3 separate regions of the Homo sapiens genome follow, and all the other regions are linked to region 2. The links are contacts of gene promoters, found by promoter capture Hi-C in human tissues and cell types (Jung and others, 2019). All regions are on one chromosome and are shown on one strand. Each heading gives the region's core, a stretch centred on a gene start or on the middle of the fragment in contact. The rest is flanking DNA. Distances are from core to core; before and after follow the strand shown. Region 1 overlaps FAM193A (family with sequence similarity 193 member A). Region 2 holds the start of HAUS3 (HAUS augmin like complex subunit 3). Region 3 overlaps FAM193A (family with sequence similarity 193 member A).

Region 1 (4,296 bases), core at 1,493-3,992, 390 kb before region 2:
CGGTGGCTCACGGCTGTAATTCCAGCACTTTGGGAGGCTAAGGCAGGCGAATCACGAGGTCAGGAGATCGAGACCATCCTGGCTAACACAGTGAAACCCCGACTCTACTAAAAATACAAAAAATTAGCCTGGCGTGGTGGCACCCACCTGTAGTTCCAGCTACTCGGGAGGCTGAGGCAGGAGAATCACTTGAACCCAGGAAGCAGAGGTTGCAGTGAGCCGAGATCATGAGGGACACAGCGAGACAGAGCGAGATTTTTTTTTGAGACAGAGTGAGACTCTGTCTCAAAAAAAACACAAAAAGACAAATTATTCCTTTTTCCAACTAAGACTCCGTCTCAAAAAAAAAAAAATTCGTCCTTTTTCCAACTACATTATCTGTAAAAAGTTGAATTTTCTTCAATAACTTCAACCAGACAACCTATGACAACAGACTGAATGCAGATGAGACTCCCACTGCTTTTACAGAGAGATCTGGAGAGGTGTGAGTGACCCACTCTTCTTAAGAAATATGTTGGCCGGGTGCGCTGGCTCACGCCCATAATCCCAAAACTTTGGGAGGCCGAGGCGGGCAGATCACCTGAGGTCAGGAGTTCGAGACCAGCCTGGCCAACATGGTGAAACCCCATCTCTACTAAAAGAAATACAAAAAAATTAGCCAGATGTGGTGGCAGGCACCTGTAATCCCAGTTATTTGGGAGGCTGGGGCAGGAGAATCGCTTGAACTGGGGAGGCAGAGGTTTCAGTGAGCCAAGATCTCACCACTGCACTCCAGCCTGGGCAACAATGTTTTATTTTGGAAAATAGTTATTTTTACATATGTAATTTATGTTACATTATCTAATGTAAAAGTGTATTATTTGTTACATTCTCTAATATATGTTAAAATATGCAATTTATGTAATCTAATGAGAGTTTACATTTTTAAAATGACAATAAGCATTTAAAAAATTTTCTCAGTTTGAATTTCAATACAGCAAGTACTGATGTAAGTCTGCATAAAAAAGCACACTTCGGGGTCCTAAATTTTTAAGTATAAAGGGGCCTAAGTCCAAAACTGTTGAGAATTACTGCCCTGAGACACCGAGTTTATCTTAAGCTGGTGCTGCATAGATCACTGGATGGCAGTGTAATAATGTGGCTATGAATTTGTGAAGATTTTTGGGTCCTGATTGGAATAACCCAACCATAAAAAGAGATTGGCTGGCATTAGTCGGTAAGAAATTACTATTACCGTCAGTCTTCATGGATGTGACAATGGAACTGTGGCTACAGAAGATAATGGATGACTATTTTTAGAGACACTTATTGGAATATTCTAAGACAAAAAGCACATTGTCTGGGACCCATACTAAAATACTGCATCAAAAAGAGGGAAGAGAAAGTGGAAGAAAAAGAAGGCATAATGAAGTCAGAGTGGCAAAATGCTGATTAACTGCGCATCTGGGTAAGGAGTACATAGATTCATTGTAGTCTCTACCCAGAATCCAGAATTACACATTATAACATCTCACAGACCATTTTCAACAAAGTCCTGTGTTTTGTGTTTGAGATCACTTTTTCTTTGATGTTCTGTAGCTGTCATTATACTATAACCAGAGAAGGATTTTTCAACATCTTACTTGGGAAATCTGATACGTTTCCTTGCTGAACACTAGTATTTTTCAGTAATTCTGAGAATTTCTCAGCTATCATCTCTAAAAAAAGTTTTTGTTTCTAGTTTTGATATTTTTTCAAATCTGAATTATCATTCTTTAGAGTATTAATCCTTAACTCCCAATTTCAAACTTTTACAAAGCTTCTTTAAGCACAGTTAACAAAGTTACTCTATATTCTTTTTTGAAAATTTAAATATCTTTGTTATGTGATTCTGTCTACTGCTTCTGCTGGCTTTTAACTGTGCTGTCATGAACCTTGTGTTTTATGACTTTTTTTACTGTGAGCTGCTCATTTGGGGGGATTTTATCTATTCGAATTCTCTGAGGTCAGATTGAAGGTTTCCAGAGGTGATCTGCATGCTGCCTGACTTTACCAGCAATCCTGGACCACTGTAAAGTAACTTCCAGGCTTGGGCTGTTCATACCACACCAACATTTATTCACACTCCAGCTCATGTGGCAGCTGGCTGACAGCTACCAAGTCTCTGGGAAGCTGTACTCCCTGCATCTCCACCCCAAGGCCACGAGAGCTGCAGATCCCTGCTGTCCCTTTCGGTGCTCGGAGTTTCCACTTCAACCTTACTAGTGTCGTCACTTACAGTCCCAGCATTATGTGCAGACCCCATCCTGGGCTAGGTTGTCTCTTGTCTCCCAGGATCAGAAGAAATACCCACAGCAAATGCTGACTTTCAAGCCCATGTATTTCTCAGGATTCCAGCTTTCAATTGGTTTTTCACCACTACGACTTACTCCCTTTCATGCCATCTCAGCCATACACTTTAAAAGATTTCATCTTTTTTTTGAGACGGAGTTTTGCTCTTGTTGCCCAGGCTGGAGTGCAGCGGCCCCATCTCGGCTCACTGCAACCTCCACCTCCCAGGTTCAAGCAATTCTCCTGCCTCAGCCTCCCAAGTAGCTGGGATTATAGGCGCGTGCCACCACGCCAGGCTAATTTTTTGCATTTTTAGTAGAGACGGGGTTTCATCACGTTGGCCAGGCTGGTCTCTAACTCCTGACCTCAGGTGATCCAACCACCTCGGCCTCCCAAAGTGCTGGGATTATAGCCGTAAGCCACCACGCCTGGCTTATTTTTTTATTATCTAGTAAATTCAGTTGTTTCCCTTGGAGGAAGGAATAGTTAAGGGTATCTAGTCTGCTGGACCCCTAGAAATCAATGTGGGTATTTCTATGTGTAAAGGAAGTGAAAAAAGACACTAATCAAACAGCTTCTGGGTGTATGCATTTTTTTCAAGCCACAAGAAATTATTTCTTTTTTATTTTGTTTTGTTTTGTGTGTGAGACAGAGTCTCGCTCTGTTGCCCAGACTGGAGTGCACTGGCACAATCTTGGCTCAATGCAACCTCTGCCTCCCGGGTTCAAGTGATTCTCCTGCCTCAGCCTCCCGAGTAGCTGGGACTACAGGCGCCCGCCACCATGCCCGGCTAATTTTTGTTATTTTTAGTAGAGACGGGGTTTCATCATATTGGCCAGGCTGGTCTTGAACTCCTGACCTCAGGTGATCTGCCTGCCTCGGCCTCCCAAAGTGCTGGAATTACAGGCGTGAGCCACCGCACCCGGCCTCAAGCCACAAGAAATTATTTCTATGTCAACTGCTAGGAATTTGCTCTAATAAATATGGTTCAAATTAATTTTTGTCAGCTTCATAAAACAGTATCCTACAGTAACTATCTGAGGAGGTGCAGACCTCGCCAGCATTTTCTGGAGAGCAGCAACAGCTGCTGTCTTCACTACCAGAGTCTCTCTGGGCACCAGGTTTAGGTGGGCTGGAGAGCATCCTTCTTAACCTGAGCCAGTGTTCTTGTAGAAGACAGAGGAGGGGCTCTGGATTTGAACCTCTGAAGGGCAGGCAGACTCTCAGGTAGAGACGGGGAGGCTGTGCTGCGAGAGATGCCAGAGGAAGGACGAGGTACCAGAAGGAAGCCTGGTGGCACTACCCAGTGGACTCAGACCTTGAAACAGGATAACTGCCCCCCTGCCCCACCCCCACCCCTCACCCTACCCATTCACCTCGCTACCTCTTCTCAGAATAGATACCTCCCCATGGCTTGGCGCAGTGAAGCTTGAGGAAGTCTGTGAACCCCCTGAAATGACTTACAATTACATGTATGTAATTTTTTCTTTTCTTTTTGAGATAGGATCTCACTCTATTCCCAAGCTGGAGTACACTGGCTCACCACAGCCTCAACCCTGAGCTCAAATGATCCTCTTGCCTCACAGCCTCTTGAGTAGCATGCGTCATCACGCCTGGTTAATTTAATTTTAAATTTTTTTGGTATAGGTGGGGTCTCCCCATGTTGCCTAGGCTAGTCTCAAGCTCCTGGGCTCAAGTGATCCTCCCACTTTGGCTTCCCAAAGTGCGAGGATTACAGGTATGAGCCACCACACCCGGGCTGTATGTAAATTTTTCTAAGAGGGTCCATCAACTTGAGAATCAGATAAAGACCAAGGCCAATGCTTACTGTATTTGTTTCAAAATGTAGGTTTACCACTAAGAAAGCACCCAAAACTGATGCTCAGCCCTCTCGCCATGTGATGCCCTGTACCACCTTTGGACTCTGTTCAGAGTCCAAGTCCCCACCTGCAAGAAAGCTCTCACCAGATGTGGCCCCTCAAACTT
Region 2 (4,107 bases), core at 1,393-3,892:
CAAACAGCAAAAACACTTGATCCTCACAGCTCTGTCTTTAGGTCTGTTTAGTCCATTATATTCTCATGGGCTTTTTCAGGGAGGATTAATTCCTGGGTTCCATTTATCTTTTGACCTTACTAAAACTCCAAATAATTTTGACTGCTGAAAAGAAAGCTTACCCTGGAAATACACGTAACATACTTGCTTTCTTAAATTCCCAAGGCAAGCTGAAGAAAACTTTCCACATCTGTATAGTTAAACCTATTGTGTTTGTCATTTGTACTCCAGGGGCTGATACTGTTGTAATTTTTACTTAATGGTTTTATGGCTTTTATGGTCTCATAAACACCTTTCCAACAAATAACTATGGTCAGCAATTCAAAATCAGATGGAGAATTAATTTGTGGCCCAAGAAACCACCCAGGAGTCACTAGGAAAGTGGGTTTCTAGAACGGCCTCCAGGGCTCTGGAGTGCACCCCTCCTGCCCTCCAGGGATCTCTTTCTATAAAGGAGCCCCTTGTCTTTCTGCCGTCTTTAATGCTGTCTCCTCAGAGTTCCTCCTTGCAGTCTATAAATATCCCCGAGTTCCTCTCATTTTCAAACAAAACAAAATAAAAAATCCTCCCCTCAGCCCTGCATTCCCACCCCCTCAGCTTGTGTTGTTTTGCATGCTCGCTCTCTGTCTTTCTCCTCTCTCTCTCTCTCTGTGTCTCTGTCTGTCTCTGTCTCTCTGTCTGTCTCTGTCTCTATCTGTCTCTCTGTGTCTCTGTCTCTCTGTCTCTGTCTCTGTGTCTCTGTCTCTCTGTCTCTGTCTCTCTGTGTCTCTCTGTCTCTGTCTCTGTCTCTCTGTCTCTGTCTCTCTGTTTCTGTCTCTCTCTGTCTCTCTGTATCTCTCTCTCTGTGTCACACTCCTCCCACCCAGTCTTTGCCTCATCAGCAACATTTCTGGAAGGCATTGCCTGCACAGCTCCCACTTCCTCCTGTCCAAACTGGCTCAACTCTGCCCCCTGATGCACACCCCCAACCTCCAACCCTGGGCTGCAAGGGTCCTCCCACCAGGCCTCCCCGTTCCAGCATCCCTGGTTTCCTTGCCTGCAGATTGGGCACCACTCTTTGAATTTTTTCCCATCATGTTTGTTTTTCAGATCATTTTAGGCCTTATTGACTTTTAAAAGAGGAGGAAAAAAACGTGAAACAAGTGAAGAATGAATAGGAAATATCTTTGACTCGATCAGATTACAATATTTGCCTTAGAACATTCTTATTTCTCTCCTTAAAAATATTAAGAAAAACTATCCAAACGACTTCTACCTAGTCACCCTGGACTAGGACATTGTCTAACAAGCCACCTTTAGGGTCATTTGACGCTGAAGGGAGGGAGTACTATTATATTTACCCATGACCAAAGCCCCTGCTAACCTGTGGAAGACTGAGGAGTGGCAAAGGATTTTTGTTTGGTAGAGATGCAAACGAATTCTGTCCAATAGAGAGGTCTGGTTTCACTGGGCTGTAGGGCATCAGCCAGATTCACATGAAATTTAGCAATCCCGTTTCAGTCATCTTTCACTGACTGCCATCCTCTTTGGAAATGGTGTACCATCCTCCTTGAGTTAAATATATCGATGTATTTAACTCAGGCCATTCCGTTTATTTCTAACATTTTGAAAAGGGAATTGTGGAGGAAGTCAGCTTTTTTTTTTTTTTTTTTTTTGAGACGGAGTCTTGCTCTGTCGCCCAGGCTAGAGTGCAGTGGCGTGATCTCGGCTCACTGCAACCTCCACCTCCTGGGTTCAAACGATTCTCCTGCCTCAGCCTCCCGAGTCGCTGGGATTACAGGCGCCCACCACCGCGCCCGGCTAATTTTTGTATTTTTTAGTAGAGATGGGGTTTCACCATCTTGGCCAGGCTGGTCTCGAACTCCTGACCTCATGATCCCCCCCCCCCCCCCCCCCGGCCTCCCAAAGTGCTGGGATTACAGGCATGAGCCACCGCGCCCGGCCAGAAGTCAGCTTTTACATAGTGTTCTGGTGAGGGATTAGAAATTAAGTGTTTTTGCAAAATAAAGTTCATTGTAAAAGACTCTAAGCGAACAATCCCTAACCCTTAAAATGTACCAGGCATTGGTCGGGCTGCTGTGAATGTTCCGGGAACTCGTCTCTCTCGGGGGCGAGCGCTATCACCGCCGGGCTCCAGCCTGTCTCCCAACCACCAACCTGCGCTGCTCTTTGTACCATTCAAAAGTGCCTTCAGAGGGTCTAGATTGAAGTACGGGGCAGGGCAGGCCTGAAGCACAACTGACGGCTCCGTTGAGAGCAGGCCCGCAGCTTCAGCTCCCCAGAGGGCGCCCCACCGCACCCCTCTGCACCCCTCTGCACCCCATTCATTGCCCAGGCTCCGCCCCCTGCCCAGGCCCCGCCCCTGTCCAGGCCCTGTCCCCGCCCTTCCCGGCCCAGACCCCGCCTCTCTCTGCCCTGCGCCCCGCCCAGGAGGCAGGATGCCCGCAGCGGCCGGGGGCCGAGCGCCGCCTGCTCAGCTCCACCCCATAGTCCAGCCTCGCCGACTCCGCCTCTTTTGACACTACGCCTGCGCAAACAGTCATCCCCCACGACCACGCCGTCGCCTTGTGCGCTTGCGCGCGTCCAGGCGCTCCCGTGAGGCAGTGCGAGGCGCGCGGGGCACGGAGGGCGGTGGCGGCGGGCTCCTGCGAGAAGCAAGCGGAACTTCCTGAGGTGACTGACGCGGGCCTCGGTTCTGGGCGCAGGGGTGTGGGGCTGGAGGAGTGGCCGCGATCCCCGTCTGCACCCAGGTGCCTCTTTTTTTTCCTGCGCTCCTGGGGGCTCCTTCCAGGTGCTCCAGCAGCTGCCCGGGGATCAGGGCCCGGTCCGCTGGGCGAGGAGCTGGGGCGGGGGCTGTGCGGGGCCTGTCACCCCCGTCTTCTGCAGCTCGGTGTCGACGGCGATTCGGTGGGCTTGTGCGTTTGTTTTGTCAGCGTGCTTAGGTGTCACAGCTGGGTGACCCTCCGAAGGAAGGTTTTGCCGCTGGCGCGTCTGGTGTATCGCGGCCTTGGGGCCGCGGATCCCTGGGGCTTGCCGCTGCCTCTGGGGTTCGCGCGGCCCTGGCGTCGGGGCTGCCTCAGCGCTGGCTGAAGGCCGGCCCGAAGCACCCTTAATTGTGGCCGCGCGCTTCCCTGCTGCTCCTGCTGTTCTCCGCGTCGCGGTGGTGGACTCTGGAGGTGGAGCCTTGCCCGGCGAGACGTTGAGGTAAATATTTAGTTGATCTTCAGAAGATGTGCCATGCTTATTTGCGTCTTCTTACGTACGGAGGGCAGGGAAGAGAGGCTGCCTAGCCTCCTGGTGGCTTGGGTTTGTTTGGATCCATTTATTTTGAATTAAAAACAAATGCTGCTCTATAAAGTGTAATGCATTTTAAACCATTTTATCTTTGGAAAAAAAGATAAAATGGATCCAAATAGATCCACTTTCTTGTTAATTACTTTTCGTTACTGTTGCGGTTTTCTGAGAACTAGCCTAATTGTTTCTGTTTCTCTTTATCATCATCAAACATTGCAGCTACGACTACCTGTCATTTATCCCGCTCTCGGATATCATGTGATATTTGTCTGTGTCTTCTTTTTAAAAACACTGTCGTCATATTTGTGGTCTAATACTTGTTTTCTTCCCCCCTAGGAGGAATCATTATAGATTCTAAAAATATATTTTCCCTTCTCTGTGGACTTGGTATAAAACGTAGCTTTTTTTCTGCTTGGATTTATTTTCTAAAAATCAACACCGTAAACCCATATCAGATACAACAAAATTGGGGTAGTTAAAACCATGAGTTGTGGAAATGAGTTTGTGGAAACATTAAAAAAAATTGGTTATCCCAAAGCTGATAATCTTAATGGAGAAGACTTTGACTGGTTGTTTGAGGGCGTTGAAGATGAATCGTTTCTGAAGTGGTTTTGTGGGAATGTGAATGAACAGAACGTGTTGTCTGAAAGAGAATTGGAAGCTTTTAGCATTCTTCAGAAATCAGGCAAGCCTATTCTAGAAGGGGCGGCATTGGATGAAGCTCTTAAAACGTGTAAAACTTCTGATTTGAAGACACCTAGACTGGATGATAAA
Region 3 (3,974 bases), core at 165-2,664, 410 kb before region 2:
AAATGAAAAAGGCAGACAAGATCTATAGTTCTTGTTCTTCTTCCCTGTAAAAATGAATTAGGCCCCAAAGTTTTACGGTAGGTTCTATCAAACCCTTCATGGGACAGAAAATTTAAACTATTCCTGAAAATTGCAAAAACACAGAGTTTCTCAATTCATTCTATGAAGCTAGCACAACCTTTATACAAAACAAGTAAGACCTCAAAGACCAAGACAACTCAATTATACCTCAGAATATAGATATAAAAGTCCTGGCTGGATGCAGTGGCTCACACCTGTAATCCCAGCACTTTGGTAGGCCAAAGCAGGAGGATCACTTGAGGCCAGGAATTTGAGAACAGTCTAGGTAACAAGGCAAGACCCCCACCGCTACAAAAAATTTCATTTGTTTGTAAATAAAATTATCTTTGAGACAAGGTCTCTTGCTCTGTCACCAAGGCTGGACTACAGTGGTATGATCACAACTTACTGTAGCCTCAACCTCCTGGGCCTATGATCCTCCCACCTCAGCCTCCCAAGTAGCTAGGACCACAGGCACACACCACCACACCTGGCTAATTTTTTTTTCCTTGTAGAGATGGGGTTCTCCCTATGTTGCCCAGGTTGGCCTCAAACTCCTGGGCTCAAGCGATCCTTCTGCTTTGGCCTCCCAAAGTGCTGGGATTACAGCTGTGAGCCACTGCACCAAGCCAAAACTTAGCTGGCACACTGGCATGTGCCTATGGTCCTAGCTACTCAGGAGGCTGAAGTGGGAGGAGAGCTTGAGCCCAGGAGTTCGAGGCTGCAGAGAACTAATATCTTGTCATTGCACTCCAGCCTGGCCAGCAGTGTGAAACCCTGTCTCTAAAAATAATTTTATATAGCTGTCCGAATACACACACACACACACACAGGCGCACACGCACACACACACACGTCCTAAATCAAATATCAGCTAATAAATTTAATAATGGAATAAAGAATGACATATCATGATCTACTAGGGTTTCATCCCAGGAACGCAAGAATGTCTCAAAATTAGGTAACCTAAACTCTTAACTCATACAGAAATTGATATAAGAAAAATCATACCATCAATTTTGACATCTTCCTGTTTTATTTTTTAAATGATAGCCTAAATCAACTAGAAATAAAGGTAAACTTCTTTAATTTGCTAGAAAGTATCAAAAGTCTGTATGGCAAGCATCAAACTTCATGGTGAAACACTCACAGCAGCCCCTCGAAGCCAGGACTGGACAAGGGTGCCAGTATCAATGCTCTTATTCACACTGGTCTGAAGGTCCTAGTGGAAGCCAAAAAAAGGGGACAAATGCTGGAAAAGATGAGATAAACCTATCATTATTTGTAGAAGATACCGTGATTTCCTAGACTCCCAGATTCAAGACTCAACTCAAAAACTACAAGAGTTAATGCCGGCATCTGGCGAGATGACTGGTCACAGGGCATCTCCATTTTCCCAGTTTCCAGCATGAATGCTTTAAACACACATTCCCCACTCAAGATGCCGGTCATAGCAGCCCCTCAAACTACAGACTATGGAGGCACAAAATGGGTCAAGATTTACAAACTATAAAACCATAATACAATATATTTTTAAAAACCTTAAAAAAGAGTGACATACCATATTCTTGGATGGGAAGATTCAATATTGGTGCCAATTCTCCCTTTTCATTGTATATGTCTGCAGTTATTATAAAATCTTAGTGTACAGTGTAAGAGTTGTTTGATAAATAACATCAATAAAAACCTCTTCCTTGACTCTCTCCTCACAGCCTCAGGGAAATTTTTTTTTTTTTGGAACAAATTTGGGTACCTGCAGGCTTATGTATGTGTCAAACAACAGAGAAAGAATGAATTTCAGACAGCAAACATAAAAATAATTGATTTCAAACTTCCAGCCTGGGCAACACGGTGAAACCCCGTCTCTACCAAAAATACAAAAAAAAAAAAAAAAAAAAAAATTAGCCAGGCATGGTGGTGTGCGCTGTGATCCCAGCTACTCTGGAGGCTGAGGTGGGAGGGCTGCTTGAGCCCAGCAGGCAGAGGTTGCAGTGAGCTGAGATGACACCACCGCCTAGTTGAGAGAGTAAGACTCCATCTCAAACAAACAAACAAAACCTACCAACTCTCTTGCCACATACATACATACTTATTTGTGAACAGAGACTCAATTATTTTACACGTATTCAACATTTTAAAGCCTTTGAATCAGTATAAAATTTCTAAAATGTTATTGATTAGAAGCAACCAATGTTCATTCAAAGGTTTTAAATTAAATAGTGCATTAAAACAGCTCCAGTGGAGAGTGGAGTGGCCACAAACCAAGAACTCCAGGGGTCACTGCAGTTGCCCCCAAAGCCTTCAGGGGAACATAGCCCTGCTGACATACTGATTCTGAACTTCTGGCCTCAAGAACTGTGAGCATAAATTTCTGTTGTTTTCAGCTCCCCACAACCTCCCACCCATGCATACATGGTTCCAGAATGACTATTATTCTCTGGATGTTACTAAAGTGGCTCAATTTCCCTCAATTGTATTAGTGGCAGATTGTTTCTCATGGTTTCTTCACAAGACAGTGAAAATAAAAATGCATCTCCTGGCTGGGCATGGTGGCTCACGCCTGTAATCCCAGCACTTTGGGAGGCTGAGGTGGGTGGATGATGAGGTCAAGAGATCTAGACCATCCTGGCCAACAGGGTGAAACCTTGTCTCTACTACAAATACAAAAATTAGCCGGGCGTGGTGGCGGGCGCCTGTAGTCCCTACTACTCGGGAGGCTGAGGCAGGAGAATTGCTTGAACCCAGGAGGCAGAGGTTGCAGTGAGCCAAGATCACACCACTGCACTCCAGCCTGGTGACAGAGAGAGACTCTGTCTAAAAAAAAATAAATAAAAATAAAAAGCATCTTCTGGTTGCTTTAGTGAAGAGACTGGTTTTCTCTTTGTAAAAGCAATGTAACATGCAATTTTAAAGAAATACACTTTACTTTTTAAGTGACACTGTTATTTTCTCCCTAGAGAGAACATGTATGTGTTATTTTTACATATATACCATTTTCCCTAGAACAACAGCAATAATACCATATATAATATTTCAAAATAAATGTTTACCTTCAAGAAACAGATACCTGAAGAAATTACTATTCCCAAAGGATTTTTCAGTCTTAGTAAAAGAATTTCCCTAAGGGCATTTTTGTGTTTAGTTACAGTTCAATTGGAGAAATGAATCTCTGAAACTAGAACTTTATCTGCCATTTCCATCACATGTGGAACTAAGGACAGCACCCCAGGCTCTTAGGGGCAGGATGTTATGCTACGTAGGACACCGCTGACCTAAACCCCAACAGGCCTGCCTGGCTGAGACCCTCGGGAGCCTCCTGTCATCTGCAGATGTGGTAACACCAGGAAGCAGTAGTGAGGCTCTAGCCACACGGGGTTTGGCACAGCACTCGGTAACGGTTCATCTTCCTTCTCTTTCATCTTTTTCCCTATGTTATCACTAACTATACTATTTTTCTGAAGTCACCTGAAGGTTACAAGTTATTCACAACCTCAGAAACTTATATCGATACATGAAGGGAAAGCCAGGTGATATGGCTTAGATTTGTGTCCCCGCCCAAATCTCATGTCAAACTGTAATCCCCATTGTTGGAGATGGGGCCTGGTGGGAGGTGATCAGATCATGGGGGCAGATTTCCCCGAAGGTGCTGTTCTCGTGATAGCGAGTGCTCAGAAGATCTGGTTGTTTAAAAGTGTGTAGCACCTCCCCACCCCCCTTCCTCCTACTCCAGCCACGTAAGATGTGCTGGCTTCCCCTTCACCTTCCACCATGATTGTAAGTTTCCCGAGGCCTCCCAGCCATGCTTCCTACACAGCCACAGAACCGTGAGCCAATTAAACTGCTTTTCTTTATAAATTATCCAGTCTCAGGTATTTCTTTATAGCAATGCAAGAATGGACTAATACACCAGGGAT

What was found. The method cuts DNA at HindIII sites, captures the fragments that hold promoters and counts their contacts. A contact is called where the count stands out against the background at its distance.
Region 1: a fragment that was not itself captured here is called in contact with the fragment with the promoter of HAUS3 in region 2 in 1 of the 25 tissues and cell types used here (heart left ventricle).
Region 3: a contact is called between a fragment that was not itself captured here and the fragment with the promoter of HAUS3 in region 2, in 3 of the 25 tissues and cell types used here (IMR-90 fibroblasts, dorsolateral prefrontal cortex and hippocampus).

What each region holds. Positions count from the first base shown.
Region 1 is chr4:2,632,058-2,636,353 of GRCh38, reverse strand. The region is part of intron 5 of FAM193A (family with sequence similarity 193 member A); the gene reads right to left. Among named protein-coding and RNA genes, the nearest start is that of FAM193A, 98 kb to the right of the region's middle. The HindIII fragment of the contact is 4,088 bases long and covers 699-4,296 here.
Region 2 is chr4:2,240,656-2,244,762 of GRCh38, reverse strand. HAUS3 (HAUS augmin like complex subunit 3) reads left to right here and starts at 2,642. Exons shown (of 6, transcript NM_001303143.2): 1 at 2,642-2,712; 2 at 2,973-3,243; 3 at 3,670-4,107. The coding sequence starts at 3,817. POLN (DNA polymerase nu) reads left to right here and starts at 2,642. Exons shown (of 26, transcript NM_181808.4): 1 at 2,642-2,712; 2 at 2,973-3,243. It also overlaps the pseudogene COX6B1P5. RefSeq lists a silencer at 2,212-2,571 and enhancers at 3,252-3,351, 2,958-3,459. The HindIII fragment of the contact is 17,295 bases long and covers 1-4,107 here.
Region 3 is chr4:2,652,366-2,656,339 of GRCh38, reverse strand. All of the region lies in intron 7 of FAM193A (family with sequence similarity 193 member A), which reads right to left. Among named protein-coding and RNA genes, the nearest start is that of TNIP2, 100 kb to the left of the region's middle. The HindIII fragment of the contact is 5,301 bases long and covers 1-3,974 here.